6 separate regions of the Homo sapiens genome follow, and all the other regions are linked to region 1. Evidence: promoter capture Hi-C in 16 types of primary human blood cells and fetal thymus (Javierre and others, 2016). All regions are on one chromosome and are shown on one strand. Each heading gives the region's core, a stretch centred on a gene start or on the middle of the fragment in contact. The rest is flanking DNA. Distances are from core to core; before and after follow the strand shown.

Region 1 (2,903 bases), core at 138-2,637:
GGAAATAAACCAAGACCGAAAATTTCTGGCTAGCTCCCTTTCCCTTAAAGGGGAACCTAACAATATTTACTCAACAAATAACTACCAACTACCTAATATTTGCTAATGTGGCTTTGGAAACTCAGCCATGACCTGTATCCTTCCTAGAGCAGCAAATTTCATATACAACATCTCAAAACTACTTGTATGGTCCTGAGACTCAATAATGTATAACTGTTCTATTAATACACTTCCCAAGTCCGAAAATGTCCCCTAAAATGCTTCCTATATCAGATTTTGTCACTTTAAATCTGATACTACTTAATGCTGTGCTTCCTAGGCTCGGACAGAGCACACTTCTCAATAGCATTCCTCTCTCGGTTTACTTGCTCCTCACATCACATCCCAGGTCCGTTGACTCTGGACTCCAGGGCTCCACCAAAACCTCAGTGTTTGAATGCTTGCACTCTCCAGCAAAATCCCTGATCCGATTCTACCGTTCAGCTATGCCCCTAGCCCTGATGCCTTTCTTCCTACACCATACACTCACACCGTGGACTTCAGGGCCACTTCCAAACTGGGTCACATTAGCAACCCTGGATCTCGAAGACTCTCAGCCTGTCACTTGGGTTTCGGTGTTTCCAAGCCTGGAACCCTGAGGGCCTGCACACCCCAATCTTGGGCCATGCATGTACCAGGAAAAGCACCTCTGAAAGTGAGTGTCCCCCATTCCCAGGCCATGGCCTAAGCTACCCCCAAAGTACCTGCCAGGCCATCACCCTCTCTTCCCCCTTAAAGCCTCTAGGCTCGCCCTCTCGCCGCAACCCCACGCCTGCGCCGCAGGGGGTCATTGCCCCAGCCGCCCTAGCCCAAGACGCGCGCATCCCCGCAGCCTCAGATTCCTTCATCACCCCCTAGACCGGAGCTGGCGCGTCCAATAAGGTGCCAGGTCCGCGGCCTCCCCGCCACCGACCAATCACGAGCGAGCCCCCCCGCCGTCGCCTTCCGCCAATGGGAGAAAGCCCGCGGGCCGGGCCGACGAGGCACACGGACCCCACGAGCGCGGCGGCGGCGACAGCAGCGGGCCAGGCAAGAGCACAACATGGCGGCGGGCAGGACGGACCGAGCTACAGCAGCGGCCGCGCGAGGAAGTGAGGTCTCTGGCGAAGGCGGGAAGCGCTGCCCCTCCCCCCGCCGCCGCTTCCCTATCACCCTCGCACAGAAACTCCCGCACACTCACACACCTCTGCTCAGGAGTCCAGGAAGAGCAGGAGCCGCCCCCGCGCTCCTACGGAGTCGGGCAATGCAGAGGCCCAGGCGCGGCGGAGGGGAGGGGGAAGTGTGCGTCACGGAGAACGGAGCGCGCGCGAAGCGGGGGCACAAGCAAGATGGCGGCCACGCCGTTTGCACCGTTTCCCCTTTTCCCTTCCCCCTCCCTTGGCGCCTGGACTCCCAGTATCGTGCGGTGCGCAGAAGCTGTGCTCCTTGAGGTCTCGCGAGAATTGGGAAGGGGCGACGACAGAGGGAGGCGGAATGAGATCTGAGAGTTTTAACCCCGCCCCCTTTCGGGAGCTCGAGATCTGAGTTTTGACCCCGCCCCCTTTCGGGGGATCCGGAGGCGCTGCCCAGTGACCTCCACCACCCTGCCTATCCTTGTGGATCTCCTTGGTGCGAGCTTGAATTTTAGGAAATAAGTAGGTGTGTGCGCGTGCCCTTGAGTTTTAGGAACTAAGTAGGGGCGTGTGTGTGTATTTGTGTTTTTAATTTGGGGAGAAAGAACTGGGGGATGAAGGTCGACATGGCGTTCCAGATTAAGCATGCCGTTCAAGTAGACAGCTACTGGCACCTTAAATTCATAAAAGAGCATTTAGCACCAAACTGTAAAGTGATGTCCTCTAGAATAAAGAACAGTACTTACCAAGAATAGTTAGCTTGTAACCTTACGTCGACATAGTTGTTCTTATTTGAATGCAGATTTTAAAGTTTTATCACGCAGTTGGAAACCACAGCTACTATGAGCATGGATTTTTTCATACTTATCTCTTTCATTTCCGTGACCACTTGGTCCAAAGGCATCAGGATTGTATCCATTTTACAAATGATAAAACTGAAGCTCAAAAAGGTTAAGTAACTTGATCTAAGTCCCCACAGCTAGTAAGTGTCAAAACCCCATCCGAATAACTTCAAAACCTGTAGGTATAGTCATCAAATGTGTCTTGAATGGAATTACCTACAGTGAGAGTTAGTGCATTAGGTAACAAGCGCAGAGAGGAATGACTGCCTCTGCTGATGGTAACCTTGAATTTTACAAATGACACTGGAGCCTTTCTGAGACTAGTGTTGCATGGGTCCTCAATAAAATCACACTGTTGTTACTCACTTCCTTTGGGTTTATAACCCTGGTGATAAAGTAATTGAGAATAGTGGAGTAAACCCTCGACTTGAATTCAGGAAAATTGTTTTCAAATCCAGTTTCAATAAATCTCACATCAGGCACTCTATTTGATGAATGAATGAACAAAACCTAACTATAAGACACTTGACTTCAGGGAGTCTCAATTCCTTCATCTGTAAAAAGATCTAATTCCTAACTTTTGGTAATGTTGGGGAGAGTGAATGAAATAATGTGAGAGTGCTTCGTAAATTGCAAAAGTGTTATAAAGAAGTTACTGGTAAGAGCTACGAGTGTCTCGCTGCACTCTAGCATGGGCGACAGTGCGAGGCCCTGTCTCAGAAAAAAAAAAAGTTACTTATAATGACATTTTCAGACATGAGAAATGGCATAAAATTAAAAACAGATTCAAGAGAATAGTATGTTGAGATTGTAGAGACAGATGTAGCTAATGGAAAAAAGCTAAATAAGTCTCTCTACAGATGTTTATTGAGTACTTATTGCATATACTATGCTTGCCAAAAAATGTAAA
Region 2 (2,903 bases), core at 229-2,728, 630 kb after region 1:
TTGGCATTTTATCACTCACCAATACAAACTATTAATGGACCCATGTGAATATGTTTTACTTTCTCATTAATTCTTCAAAGACGAGCTCTTTTATCATCATGAAAGCCCCCAATGCATTGCCAGCCATATAGTAGCTGCTGTAAAGAACTGATGAATCAAATGCAATTAGGGGGCTTAGTCTGGGCATGGTGACCCACGCCTGTAATCCCAGCACTTTGGGAGGCCAAGGCAGGAGAACTGCTTGAGACCAGGAGTTCAAGACAGACTGAACAACACAGCACAACTTTGTCTCTACAAATAATAAAAAGAATTAGGGCCAGGCATGGTGGCTCACGCCTGTAATCCCAGCACTTTGGGAGGCCAAGGTGGGCAGATCGCTTGAGTCCAGGAGTTTAAGATCAGCCTGGGCAACATGGGGAAACCCCATCTCTATAAAAATACAAAAATCAGCTGGGCATGGTGGCGCATGCCTGTAGTCCCAGCTATTCAGGAGGCTGAGGTGGGAGAATCACTTGAGCCTGGGAGGTGGAGGTTTCAGTGAGCCGAGATCCTGCCACTGCACTCCAGCCTGGGCGACAGAGAGAAACTCCATCTCAGAAATAAATAAATAAATAAGTAAGTAAATAAGCAAGCCAGGCATGGTGGTGCACACTGTAGTCAAGGCTACTCAGGAGGCTGAGGTGGGAGGATCATTACACCTGGGAGGTCAAGGCTTCAGTGAGCTGTGATTGCACCACTACCCTCCAGTCTGGGTGACAAAACAACACCCTGTCTCAAAAAAAAAATTTTTTTTTAAACATAAATAAAATAAAAAACAATTAGGGGCTTAGCATTCAAGTAGGCACCTTGGCAAAATGGATGAATTTTGTTTGTGTTTGCACCCTTCCTCCAAAGCTCCATTTCCTGAACATCTCAATTCTCAGATCTTAACCATTCAGGACAGATTAAGAATTAAAATCTAATTCTACATATTAGAATTAGATGGCATCTATACACACACACACACACACACACACAATGTTTTTTGAGAGAAGGTCTTGCTCTGTCGCCCAGGCTGGAGTGCAGTGGTGTGTTCATGGCTCACTGCATCCTCAAACTTTCAGGCCCAAATCTTCCTCCCATTTCAGCCTCTCAAGTAGCTGGGACTATACGCATGCACCACCTTGCCTGGCTATTTTTATTTATTTTATTTTTTTAATTTTTAATAGAGACGAGGTCTTGCTATGTTGCCCAGGCTGGTCTCAAACTCCTGGCCTCAAGTGATCCTCCTGCCTCAGCCTCCCAAAGTGCTGGGATTACAGGAATGAGCCAGCACACTTAACCAGAATCTAATATATTTGACATTATCTTGCACTATTTTTATATTATCTAGGCATGCTGAGGGTCAAGGGTTTTAATACAGCATTTAGGACAACTTGCTTTATTATTCCTCTGTAACTAGGAAAACCAAATGCAAAAGAAGGAAACCTATATTCTTTGACTCCAAGAGAAATCTAAATTTTCTCTAATTCAACTTTTCACATCTTGCACCATAAAATTTTGAGGTGGGAGTAAAATTAAAGAGAGAGTCTCCCAACCAGTGAAGGATGAGGAGAGAAGCAATACTGTAGGAGTTTTAAGATCTCCACAGGAGCACTACTAAAGCCCATCCACAGTGAAGCAAGAGAATCATCTTTAAAGGGCTTTGGAGACACTATGATGAATGTGGACTCAGCAAAGAGGCAGGCAAGCAAAGTCCCAGGGATAACCACAGTCCTATGCAAAATGACAGAGAAAAAGCCAGTAGAGACCATTAAGTACCCAATAGTACCTTCCCATTAAGGCACTTGAAGTATGGCTCTACCTCTGGGACTTGGTATGAACATATATTATCAAAAGCCTAGTAGGTCTATTTTAAAATGTTATAATAGCTTGACATAAATCTCTCAACTCGTCCTGAGCATCAAACCAAAATGAAACCAGCTAGTAGTGAACTTACTTCTGCTGGCTGTTGACACTGAGAAGCTGTAACCAACAGAGCTCGCTCCAACTTCAAACCTGTGTGGACCATCTCCGCCTGCCAGAAAGAAGAATCAGCTATTGATGACACATTATAACTAGAGAAGTCTTGATAAGAATAACCTGAAACCTCTACTTCCATGTACTCTGATAGCAACCCAGGCACTTCATGTTATCCTCCTCATGTATTCCAGATTCCAGGGACTGAGAGCAGAATTACATACACTACTGTTCCTATTGGAACTCATCAGGGATATATATCCAGAGTTGGAAGTGAAGTTAATTGGATAATCACCTAGCTTACATGAAGTCATGTTAGCATCTTACACATGCATTGTGATACCGTGCACTGAAAAATCCTTCCTATTTCACATCAGCAAAATAAAACAAACAGCAACCAAAAAAACACCTTTCTTTTCTCAAAAATTGGAGACAGGAGTAAAGGCAAAGGCCTAAATTTCTGCTGAAAATTCTCAAGGTATTTACTCCTTTAGATTAAAGCTATCTCTCAAATGCCAGATACCATGACCCATTAATAAATAATTAAATCAATTTAGTGAGCTTAATGGAACAAAAGTATGAGTGCAGTGCACCAACTTCAAGTTATTTCCAAATAAAAAGTTAAAAAAAAAAAAAGTACAGCAGAAGTAGTATAAATATCATCTTGTGAAACTTTTATCTCAGTTACGAATATGTTCTTTCTTTCTAAGGGTCATTCGCAGTCAAAAGAATTTAAGAAACATGAGACTGTAAGCACTATTAAAATACAAAAATTCAAAGAAAGCAATCTATTTTTTCTGGATTTGCATTTTTAAAATACAAATGATAAATGTTTTAAAGTTTTTTCAAATGTTACAGAACTGTATTAAGTAAAAATGCAAGCCTCCACACCCTTATTAAAGTCC
Region 3 (2,903 bases), core at 289-2,788, 610 kb after region 1:
GACCACTCAGATTTTCTCCATAGCAGCAATAAGACTGTTTTGCTTCCTTATTATTTGTGTGTTCACTGAAATAACACTTCTAATTTTCCTCAGGAACTTTTTTTTTTTTGCATTCTATAAATGTTCAGAGTTCTAAACCTTTAAAAGGTTTCAAATACATGTATAAACACATTCTAGAATGTCACTCTGACTGTTGCTTCCTTTAACTTCAGTCTCATCTGCTCCTGGGAGGGAGAGCTCCATCTCTGACGTAGCTGGCTCTGTTGGGCTTTAGCGCCAGCCTGCTCCACCGAGTGGCGTTTTCAGGACCACTGCCTCTGGGCAGCTCTTCCACTCTGGCTACGGAGCGTATGTTGTAGAAATTTTGATTTCTCTCCCTGCCAACCTGGGATAGAGTTTGTTCGAATTTCCCCATGTGAGGCCTTGGGGTAACCGTGCCCATTTTGAGGAGGTGGGGGCTGGAAGGGAAGAGGAAGTGGAGAGAGATTGGAAAGAAAGTATAAAGAGTCCCCTTTGCTCCAGTTCCCAGCAAGTTCCTCATCTCCATCTGAGACTACCTCAGCCTGGACCTTATTGTCTATATCACTATCAGGCTTTTGGTCAAAGCCATTCAACAAGTCTCTAGAAAGTTCCAAGCTTTCCCACATTTTCCTGTCTTCTTCTGAGGCCTCCAAACTGTGCCAGCCTCTGCCTGTTACCCAGTTCCAAAGTCACTTCCACATTTTGGGTAACTTTTCAGCAGCACCCCACTCTACTGGTACTTATTTACTGTATTAGTCTGTTTTCATGCTACCGATAAAGACATACCCGAGACTGGGCAAATAGAGGTTTATAATGGACTTACAGTTCCATGTGGCTGGGGAAGCCTCACAATCATGGCGGAAGGCGAAAGGCACATCTCACATGACGGTAGACAAAAGAAGAGAGCTTGGGCAGGGAAACTCCCCTCTTAATTTTATTTTCTATTTATTTATTTATTTATTTATTTATTTTTTGAGATGGATTCTCGCTCTGTCTCCCAGGCTGGAGTGCAATGGCGTGATCTTGGCTCACTGCAACCTCAGCTTCCCAGGTTCAAGCGATTCTCCCTCCCTCTGCCTCCCAAGTAGCTGGGATTACAGGCACATGCCACCGTGCCTGGCTAATTTTTGTATTTTTAGTAGAGACGGGGTTTCCTCATGTTGGCCAGGTTGGTTTCGAACTCCTGACCTCAGGCGATCTGCCCGCCTTGGCCTCCCAAAGTGCTGGGATTATAAGCATGAGCCACAGAATCTGGCCCAACTCCCCTCTTTGAAACCATCAGATCTCATGAGACTTATTCACTGTCACGAGAACAGCACAGGAAAGACCCACCCCTGTAATTCAGTCACCTCCCATGACATATGGGAATTGTGGGAGTTACAATTCAAGATGAGATTTGGGTGAGGACACAGCCAAACCATATCAGCATGATAAGTATGATAAACCCCAGTGTCACAGGAGAAGCAAATATTGATGAGTCCTTTGCCTGAATCTTTTATAATTTCTGTACTATGCTGAACAGTCTGTCTCAACAAGGTGTCTTGTTGACAGACTGTTTCCTAGGTGCAAGTCTTGTCTTCTGTATTAAAGGGTAAGGCCTGGGACTTGAGGGCTTTGGCCTTTTGTCCTTGTTTTTTGAGACAGAGTCTCACTCTGTCGCACAGGCTGAAGTGCAGTGCTGCGATCTCAGCTCACTGCAACCTCTGCCGCCGGGGTTCTAGCAGTTCTCCTGCCTCAGCCTCCCAAGTAGCTAGGATTACAGGCGCCTGCCGCCGCGCCTGGCTAATTTTTGTAGTTTTAGTAGAGACGGGGTTTCACCATCTTGGCTAGGCTGGTCTTGAACTCCTGACCTCGTGATCCACCTGCCTCAGCCTCCCAAAGTGCTGGGATTACAGGTGTGAGCCACTGTGCCTGGCTGGCCTTTTGTCCTTTTAAAGTCTCTTGGTGGCCTTTGCACTGAGCATGCCCTGGGCGTACTGACTGACCTGTAGCTTGATCACCTCATTCTTTTTTTTTCCTACAGCCTCGTGCAAGCCGAATACTGGCATGACCCCATAAAGGAGGATGTGTATCGCAACCACAGCATCTTCTTGGCAGATATAAATCAGGAGCGGGTAAGCACCCAAACCGGGCTCCCATAGATGTGCGTTCTTTTTCCTGTTTAGGTCTTCATAAACAAATCAGCAGTGACTGTTTACCCAAACTGTCCTGGGCAGACACTAGGAAAGAGAAGTTCTGTTTTTTTTGGGAGGCAGGGCCTTTGAGATTCAGTTCCCTTTAGGGAGGTTGAAATTCATTTGCCTTTCTTCCCTTAAGTTCTTTCCCTCTCCTAGTGTTGAAACACACAGGATAAGCTCGGCAGGTTGCTGACTGGGCGAGGTGGAAATTCACAGCTGCTGTCTTAATGAGGGAAGCTTTCCTGATGGATCAGTCTGGGGGTGGATTTTTCTCTAGAGATTTACCTAAAAGAGAGATACAGTAGGCACTGAGTATGTCCCAGACACAAACATGGTTTGGTAGGTTCTGGTAAACTAGATGGCTCAGTTTATATTTGACTCATCTGGAGAGTCTTTTGGTTTTTTGTTTTGAAACAGTTTGAAGGGAAAAACAAACCAAACAAAAAACAACACAGAATAGTATATAGCAGAACGACCCAGAATTTGCAGTTTCTTATTTTGTCTTGGCTTTCTCTGACTAGAAGCCTCTCACCTATGTGATGGACACCTATGGAGTGTGGTGTAAACTCATAGTTGTACCTGTATGCCATGCTCAGTGGCATGTCAGTCAGATAGGATGGTAAGAAAAGCCTATAGAAGGCCGGGCGTGGTGGCTCACGCCTGTAATCCCAGCACTTTGGGAGGCCGAGGTGGGCAGATCACTTG
Region 4 (2,903 bases), core at 138-2,637, 590 kb after region 1:
TTTAAGATGGGGTCTCGCTCTGTCGCCCAGGCTGGAGTGCAGTGGCTCGATCTTGGCTCACTGCAAGCTCCGCCTCCCGGGCTCACACCATTCTCCTGCCTCAGCCTCCCGAGTAGCTGGGACTACAGGTGCCTGCCACCACGCCCGGCTAATTTTTTGTATTTTTTAGTAGAGACGGGGTTTCACCGTGTTAGCCAGGATGGTCTCGATCTCCTGACCTCGTGATCCACCCGCCTCAGCCTCCCAAAGTGCTGGGATTACAGGCGTGAGCCACCGCACCCAGCCTCTTTTTTCTTGGCAATGCTTTGACCTTTCAGTGATAATGTACAAATATATAAATACACAGATGTCTTCTTTAAAAAAAGAACAGCTTTATTGAAATATATTCCACATGCCATAAAAGTCACCCATTTTATGTGTACAAACCAATGATTTTTAGTAAATTTATAGAGTTGTACAACCATCATATATGTATGTACATAAATACATAGTTATTTTCTTATGCCCTGTTTAACTTACTCTCCCAGTTCTAAAATGTACTTACCTACTTACCTATGCCCACAGCATGCCCACATGGCTAGAGGCTGCTTTTCAGAACTCTTGGGTAGTTCTGTTCCTGTCAATTGAGCTACTTGCTTACTAAATGCCTTTGGGCTTATTTTATTTATTTATTAATATATCGGTGATATTTGCTATCATAATTTAGTTAAATTTTTGAAAACATGAAATATGAGCATAAAGAGAAAAGAGATGTTTCTGTGAAAACTAAGTTGAATGCATTGGAAAAGCTTGTTAAAGGCAAGTTGTTAAAAAAAATTGTTAAAGTAACTCTGGGTCGGAAATCTGAGAGTGGAAAGTCTTCCATCTAGAATAATTTCACATCCAAACACTGTGGCTCACACCTGTAATCCCAGCACTTTGAGAGGCTGAGGCGGGAGGATCCCTTGAGCCCAGGAGTTCCAGGCTGCAGTAAGCTATGATTGTGTCACTGCAGTCCAACTTGGGGAATAGAGCAAGACCCTGTCGCAAAAAAAAAAAAAAAAAAAAAAAGTCATCATAGCACTATTCATAATAGCAAAGACATGGAATTAACCTAAGTATCCATCAACAGTAGACTGGATAAAGAAAATGTGGTAGGTATACACCATAGCATACTACACAGCCAAAAAAGGAATGAGATAATGTCCTTTGCAGCAACATAGATGGAACTGCTTAGGTCATTATCCTAAGCAAACTAATGCAGGAAAACAAAACCAAATACCACATGTTCTCACTTATAAGTGGGAGCTAAACATTAAGTACAGATGGACACAAAGAAGGGAACAACAGACACTGGGGCCTACATGAGGGTGGAAATGAAAAGTTACCTATTGGGTACTATGTTCATTATGGCAGTGACAAAATAAAACGTACACCCAACCTCCTTGACATACAACTTACCTATATAGCAAACTTGCATATGTGACCCTGAATCAAAAATAAAAAACAAAAAGAATGTTGGTCTGGCACAATGGCTCACAGCTGTGATCCTAGAACTTTGGGAGGCTGAGGGGGGCGGATTGCCTGAGCTCAGGAGTTCGAGACCAGCCTGGGCAACATGGCGAAACCCTGTCTCTACAAAAAACACAAAAAATTAGCGGGGCATGTTGGTGGTGTGTCTGTAATCCCAGCTACTCGGGAGGCAGAGGCACGAGAATCGCTTGAACCCGGGAGGTGGAGGTTACAGTGAGCCAAGATCACGCCACTGCACTCCAGTCTGGGGGACAGAACAAGACCCTGTCTCAAAAAAAAAAAAAAATTGCATTCAGATTGCTTCACAAGTGTCTTTCAGTTATTGCTCCAGTTTAAAGAAACCTTTAAAGAAATTATAAATAGTTCATTAAAGGCAGGAAACTTCATTGAGCGGGCTATATTCACAGAAAAATCCTGAAACTACTTCAATTTGTAAGTCTTAAGTTAAAATAAAATGCTTATACAATAAGCTTATTTTTCTTAAAACAAAACTGTATACTGTACTGTATAATGCTTTATGATTCTGCATTTTTTTTTCTTTGAGACAGAGTTTCACTCTTGTTGCCCAGGCTGGAGTGCAGTAGCTCAATCTTGGCTCACTGCACCCTCTGCCTCCTGGGTTCAAGTGATTCTCCTGTCTCAGCCTCCTGAGTAGCTGGGATTACAGGCACCCACCACCATGCCCGGCTAATTTTTTGTATTTTTAGTAGAGATGGGGTTTCATCATGTTGGCCAGGCTGGTCTCAAACTCCCAACCTCAGGTGATCCACCTGCCTCAGCCTCCCAAAGTGCGCCCAGTGGATTCTGCATTTTAATCGACTTTTCAACTAACAACTTACCTCTAGTCCCAATGGCATGGAATAGAAGAGATTACAGACCGTGGGTTTGTAATCGACTTTTCTTTTACAACATATTAAGGGCATTTTTCATGTCACTTTATGTAAATTTACCTCATTTTTCTTTTTTGAGAGAGACAGGGTCTCACTGTTGCCCAGGGCAACAGCGAGATCATAGCTCAGTGCAATGGCGAGATCATAGCTCAATGCAGCCTTGAACTCCTGGGCTCAAGTGATCCTCCCACCTTAGCCTCCCCAGTAGCTAGGATTACAGGCACATACCACCACCCCTGGCTAATTAAAAAAAAATTTTTTTTTTGTAGAGATGGGGTCTTGCTATGCTGCCTGGGCTGTACTCTCTTTTTATTTATTTTTTATTCTTATTTTTTGAGACAGAGTTTTGCTCTTGTTGCCCAGGCTGGAGTACAATGGTATGATCTCAGCTTACCGCAACCTCTGCCTCCCGGGTTCAAGAGATTCTCCTGCCTCAGCCTCCTGAGTAGCTGGGATTACAAGTATGCGCCACCACACCCGGCTAATTTTGTAATTTTAGTA
Region 5 (2,903 bases), core at 255-2,754, 560 kb after region 1:
AGTGCTTTGGAAGTCCAAGGCAGGAGGATTGCTTGAGGCCAGGAGTTCACGACTAGCCTAGGCAACATAGGGAGACTTTGTCTCTACAAAAAATGTAAAAATTAGCCGGGCATGTTGTTGTGCTCCTGCAGTCTCAGGTACTCAGGAGGCTGAGGTGGGAGGATTGTTTGAGCCCAGGAGTTCAAGACTGCAGTAAGCTATGATTATGCCAGTATACTTCAGCCTGGGTGACAGAACAAGACCCTGTTGAAGAAGAAAAGAAGGAGGAGAAGGAGACAGAGAAGGAGAAGGGGAAAGAGGAGGAGGAGGAAGAGGAGGATGAGGAGACCTACTATGAGATTCAAGTGATTCTTAGTATGAGGAAGAAGAAGAGGAGGAGGAGGAGGAGGAGGAGACCTAGTATGAGATTCAAACGATTCTTCTCCCTCAGCCTCCCAACTAGCTGGGATTACAGGCGCCTGCCACCACACCCAGCTAATTTTTGTATTTTTAGTAGAGATGGGGTTTCACCGTGTTAGCCAGGATGGTCTCAATCTCCTGACCTCGTGATCCGCCTGCCTCAGCCTCCCAAAGTGCTGGGATTACAGGCGTGAACCACTGCCTCACATTTTTATTTCTATTGGACAGTGCTTCCTTATATGGTAATAATTGTGATTGTTTACTCAAGTCATGACCATAGCTCTAAGGTGGAACTTTCATAATTTGACTTAATAAATAATATTCTCAAATGTTTATAAACATATATTGATAATTTACTTCTACATTGTAACTATATTTTAACCATATCTCATGTTAACATCTCTTTATTTTATATTATCCTGGATTCAGGGCGTATATATAGATTTAACTTGTTCCAGTTGATTATAGGCATTGATTTCCATATTCAACCTGTCATGGTTTGACTGTCCCTGGGCGTGAAAACTTTCTTCTCAAACCTTCCTGTTTGACTCCTGCAACATTATACTTGAAACCCCCCAAAAATTCCTCCTTCCCATCAGTAACAAAATATATCAGGCATTTCTCTGCCTGGAGATTTGGCACTGGCCACTATTTTTATGAAGGTTAACATGGAGGATTTAGGCACCAGGGCTGCAATGTATCATCTTCAGTGACCGCAGGGTGTCAGCAGGGCCAAAAACAAAGCAAACATTTAACCATTTCATTGGCTGAATGAGACTTTTCAGAGTCATGGATTCAATTTAACTCTAATCTCATTATTTTTATCTTACTCTAATACAAATAATAATTCTAAATAAAATTAAAATTCTACATCAAAATCCTAATTATTTAACATTACAATCCTCCCTCTCCAACGTTCCTGATCCCTCTTATTCCGCTCTATTTCGTTAATGGCACTTATATCTTCCAGCATATCATGTCTCAATTTTCATTTCTTTTTTTTTTTTTTTTGAGACGGAGTTTCACTCTTGTTGCCCATTCTGGAGTGCAACGGCACGATCTTGGTTCACCACAACCTCCGCCTCCTGGGTTCAAGCAATTCTCCTGCCTCAGCCTCCCAAGTAGCTGAAATTACAGGCAGGCGCCACCACGCCCAGCTAATTTTTTTTTTTTTTTTTTTTTTTTAGCGTTCATTTGCAGTTACAACATGTGGATAAACCCAGGCGAGATGAGCGAGCCTACCGTTCGCACCCACCCGGCAGACGCCGGGGCGGCCCCAGGAGCTTGATGCCCAGTCCCGCTGCGGCCGCTACTACTCCTCGCCCAAAGACTCTCTCCCCGACGTGTAGGCCATGAAGCAAGTGTCGGGTCTCTTGGGGACAAGGGGTCTCACAATCTCAAAGCCCCAAAAGCTGAAGGTCCGGAGCAAGGCGGCTCTGTCCTCGTGGTTCTTGTGGAAGCAAATGAAGACATGGTCGGCGCTCAGCTGCTCCTCGGCGAACTGCTGGAGAACTGCAAAGCTATCCTCGCTCCCCTGGGGCAGCGCACCACCAGGAATCTCCGATGCAGAGGCTGCCGCCGCTCAGCACGGCTCGCCAGTTAATGCCAGTTTGGCATCTGTGAGCCTGGAGTGGACGTTGAGAATCCTCTTGTCGTTGAACGTTAGAATCTCTGTTACATGCAGTCGATCATAGGAGTAGAGTAGCTGAAAGATCGTGATCCCTCTGACGATTCCCTCGCCCACCCGGAATCTTCAGGGGTGGGCGACCGGCATCAGGGGTGCGCGAGGGGCATCAGGAGCACCACCGAGATCCCGGACCGGGTTACTACAGCAGCGGAGGGAGACCCTGGAACTCTTGCTGCTGCGGCCGCTGCGGCTGTGCAGGCTGAGGAGCGGCCTGGTGCGGCTGGCGTGGACGGTGGCGCTGGCTTTGATCCCCTTTCTTCTCTCTGGCAAAGCAGTGGCTTTTGAGGATTCGCTGCAGGGAGGAGTTCACCATCCGGCCCCTGGCATCCGGAACCTGGAAAACCTCTGCTGCGCCTCTCTGCGCCGTGCGCCCTTAAAGCACAAATTGAGACGTCCCATAAGTTATCGAATACCTTAAATTTATATTTATTTTTATAATAAATATAAAATTTATATTTATTTTTATAATAAATATAAAATTTATATTTATTGTTATTTATTTTTATAAATAAATACAAAAATAAGATTTGAATTTATTCATCCCTCTTTGAATTTTTACATCCATTGACACTGGTTAAGTGATCTTGTAAAAAAAAGTCTAGTTTATTTCCTGTCAGTAGGGGAAAAATGGCTTCCTTTGCTCATATTTTGTCATAAACAGCTTTGACAATAATTAAAAAAATAAAACCCTAAGCAAGAAAGGAAATAAATTAATTTATATAAATTATAATTAATGGTTTGGCTTTGCTCTGCATAATTACATAGTCAATGGAAGTAGTCCCTGCTGATTTCAACTTGGCATCAGCTTATAGACAAA
Region 6 (2,903 bases), core at 125-2,624, 540 kb after region 1:
GGCAGAGGTTGCAGTGAGCCGAGATTGCGCCACTGCACTCCAGCCTGGGCGACAGAGCAAGACTCTGTCTCAAAAAAAGTATATATATGTATATATATATAAATATTATTCTCTATTTTTTTATATCTTTGTAATACAAATAATTAGGTTTAGGCCAGCATGTCTGGAGTATGGTGCAAGAGAGAGAAAGAAGTGAAGATGAGATTGGAGAAGGAGCAAAGAGCCAGGTCATGTAGGACAGTATAGCTCAAGGTAAGCAGTGGGGATTTGAAGTGTACTGAGTAATCATTGTTTTACTGAGTAATCAAAGCTTTAAGTGGAGGTGTAACTTTGTCTGGTTTACACTCTTGCTGCCATGTGAGAATAGGTGGTGAGAGGCGAGAATGAAAGCAGGGAACCTATTGTAGTACTCCAGATGATCAAGTTAGAGATGTATTTTGGAAGTAGAACTAACAGGCTGATGCACTGTTTTTGAGGAAATTGAAATAATCTGGAATGGCTACATGGCTTTTGGTTTGAATGGTGGGCAATGATGTTTATTGAGAAAAGGAAGGCTTAGGAAAGAACAGACTGGGGATAGAGTGAGGGAGAATCAAGAGTTCTATTTGGAACAGGTTAAGTTTGATTTTCCTGTGAGTTCCTATGAGACATTTAAATGGAGATGCCAGATAGGCACTTGTATGTGTGACTGTGGAGCTTCAGCTGAAGATGTGGGGCCATCAGCTGTTCCACCTCTGTTAGGCAAAAAGAAAAATAAATCTCTAGTGACTCCACCACATCTTCATCTAGCTTCCATCCCACTTCTTTGCTTCCTTTTATAGAAAAACTTCTCTAAAGAGCTGGCCAGACCTTCTGTTTCTACTTACCCTCTTCTCATTCTTACTTGAACTCTTCTCAGTCAGGTTTTATCCCCACCAGTCAATGAAACAGCTCATTTTAACACCACCAGTGAGTTCTACTTTTGTGTGTGTCCAAAGGTGAATTATCAGTCCTTGTTTAGTCAATCTCTTAGCAGTATTTGGCATTGTCGATAATTCCCCAACATTTAATTTCACTTGGATTCCAAGTCTGCACATTCTCCTGGTGTTTTTTTTCTTGATTTCTTTTCTTTTATTCTCTCTTTTCTTTGTGATTTCTAAGTGTCCCAGGCATAGTCTGTCAACTTCTTTTCTATCTACACTCACTGCTACACTCACCCAGTTCTAATACATGTATGTGCTTATGACAATACCACCCTAAGTCCAGGCAACAAGGGCCCTGCCCTGGGTCCCACACTTTAGAGGACTACACAAACCTCTCTCTCTCTTTCTTACACACACACACATGCACACACACACACACACACACAGTAACTATATTAAAGAACACATGGGCACCCCTATCATTTGAAATCCAGCACTCAGCACAAGTACAATCTTAAATATTTGCTTTCTTGAGGCAGGGTCTCACTCTGTCACCCATGCTGAAATGCAGTGGTATGATCACAGCTCACTGCAGCCTTGGCCTTCCTGGACTCAAGCAAGCCTCTCACGTCAGTCTCTTGAGTAGCTGAGACTACAGAAATGCAACAACAAGCCTAGCTTTTTTCCATTTCTATTCTTTTCTTTCTTCCTTTGTTTCTTTGTTTCTTTCTTTCTTTCCTTCTTTCTTCTTCTTCTTCTTTTTTTTTTTTTTTGACGGAGTTTCCCCTTTGTCACTAGACTGGAGTGCAGTGGGGTGATCTCAACTCACTAGAATTTCTGCCTCCTGGGTTCAAGAGATTCTTCTGCCTCAGTCTCCTGAGTATCTGGGATTGCAGGTGTGCATCACCACACCCGGATAAATATTTGCTTTCTTTACCACTACTATTCAGGCTTTAGGGAACCTCTTTATCACGTCTCTTGCTCCATATACTCAAAGCTGAAAGGCACCAAAAGAATTGAAACCAGAGACATGAACAAATATTTGTACATTTGTGTTCACAACACTGTTATTCATAATAACCAAACGATAAAAATGACCCAAATGTCCATGAATGAATGAATAAATAAATGAATGTGGTATAGACATGCAATGGAATGTTATTCAACCTTAAAAAGGAAAGAAATTCATTCCTGAAAAAACAGGGGGAGGGAGGAAATTCTGACACGTGCTACAACATGGATAAATGTTGATTATGCTAAGTGAAACAAGCATCATAAAAAGACAAATGTTGTATGAGTCCACTTATATGAGGTATATAGAGTAGTCAAATTCATAGAGTAAGAAAGAATAATGGTGGTTGCCAGGGGCTGGGGGAGAGAGAGGCCAGCAGAGTTATTGTTTAATGGATGTAGAATTTCAGTTTGGGAAGATGAAAAAGTTACGGTGATGGAGGGTGGTGATGCTTGCACAACAATGTGAATGTACTTAATGCCACTGAACTATACACTTAAAAATGGATAAAATGATAAGCTTTACCTTATGCATATTTTACCACCATTAAAAAAATGAAAGACAACTGCATCCTAATGTCTTGAAGGTTTTGGGTTGTGCTACTTAAGAGAAATAGGCACACTGTTTTTGAAATGCTACGTAGAGTGTGTTCGAGCTACAGAAGCACTTGGGTAAGAGAAAACACAAATTAGCTTGTCATACTCTTCCTCTTAGATAGCATAAATGCATTTTCTTGCATAACCATGTATTGTTTCTTGGTAGTGGCAGATGTTCCTTTTTTTAATTGTCTCCATACACACATATGCGTATACACTGATATATACATGTATCTGTCTAGATGTAACATGAGTAGAGAGTAAGACTGAACATTTACATAATCATAAATAGACAATGAATATTAGCATTGGGAATAACTATTTGTACAAAAATATTTAATAAGACTGAATTGTTTTTTAAATGAAATTTACAATTCTAGCATTATTTACTTA

The links. The method cuts DNA at HindIII sites, captures the fragments that hold promoters and counts their contacts. A CHiCAGO score of 5 or more calls a contact.
Region 2: a fragment that was not itself captured here is called in contact with the fragment with the promoter of NFYC in region 1 in 1 of 17 cell types (neutrophils); the score reaches 5.5 in neutrophils.
Region 3: a fragment that was not itself captured here is called in contact with the fragment with the promoter of NFYC in region 1 in 1 of 17 cell types (neutrophils); the score reaches 5.8 in neutrophils.
Region 4: a fragment that was not itself captured here is called in contact with the fragment with the promoter of NFYC in region 1 in 1 of 17 cell types (neutrophils); the score reaches 5.7 in neutrophils.
Region 5: a fragment that was not itself captured here is called in contact with the fragment with the promoter of NFYC in region 1 in 1 of 17 cell types (neutrophils); the score reaches 5.3 in neutrophils.
Region 6: a contact is called between a fragment that was not itself captured here and the fragment with the promoter of NFYC in region 1, in 1 of 17 cell types (neutrophils). The highest score is 5.9, in neutrophils.

Annotation. Positions count from the first base shown.
Region 1 is chr1:40,690,188-40,693,090 of GRCh38, reverse strand. NFYC (nuclear transcription factor Y subunit gamma) reads right to left here and starts at 1,387. Exons shown (of 10, transcript NM_014223.5): 1 at 1,224-1,387. NFYC-AS1 (NFYC antisense RNA 1) reads left to right here and starts at 830. Exons shown (of 1, transcript NR_024567.1): 1 at 830-2,903. It also overlaps a transcript of RIMS3 not described here. RefSeq lists enhancers at 400-449, 470-639 and a silencer at 880-979. The HindIII fragment of the contact is 4,450 bases long and covers 1-2,903 here.
Region 2 is chr1:40,060,888-40,063,790 of GRCh38, reverse strand. CAP1 (cyclase associated actin cytoskeleton regulatory protein 1) reads right to left here. Exons shown (of 13, transcript NM_006367.4): 4 at 1,979-2,056. Among named protein-coding and RNA genes, the nearest start is that of CAP1, 22 kb to the right of the region's middle. The HindIII fragment of the contact is 3,835 bases long and covers 1-2,903 here.
Region 3 is chr1:40,079,629-40,082,531 of GRCh38, reverse strand. PPT1 (palmitoyl-protein thioesterase 1) reads left to right here. Exons shown (of 9, transcript NM_000310.4): 6 at 2,045-2,135. Among named protein-coding and RNA genes, the nearest start is that of PPT1, 16 kb to the left of the region's middle. The HindIII fragment of the contact is 1,799 bases long and covers 639-2,437 here.
Region 4 is chr1:40,098,323-40,101,225 of GRCh38, reverse strand. No RefSeq gene overlaps it. Among named protein-coding and RNA genes, the nearest start is that of PPT1, 2.5 kb to the right of the region's middle. The HindIII fragment of the contact is 1,194 bases long and covers 791-1,984 here.
Region 5 is chr1:40,132,258-40,135,160 of GRCh38, reverse strand. It overlaps the pseudogene OAZ1P1. Among named protein-coding and RNA genes, the nearest start is that of RLF, 28 kb to the left of the region's middle. RefSeq lists an enhancer at 1,777-2,276. The HindIII fragment of the contact is 4,652 bases long and covers 1-2,903 here.
Region 6 is chr1:40,155,090-40,157,992 of GRCh38, reverse strand. It overlaps LOC105378671 (a long non-coding RNA gene), which reads left to right. Exons shown (of 3, transcript XR_947232.3): 2 at 148-252. Among named protein-coding and RNA genes, the nearest start is that of RLF, 4.8 kb to the left of the region's middle. The HindIII fragment of the contact is 2,123 bases long and covers 313-2,435 here.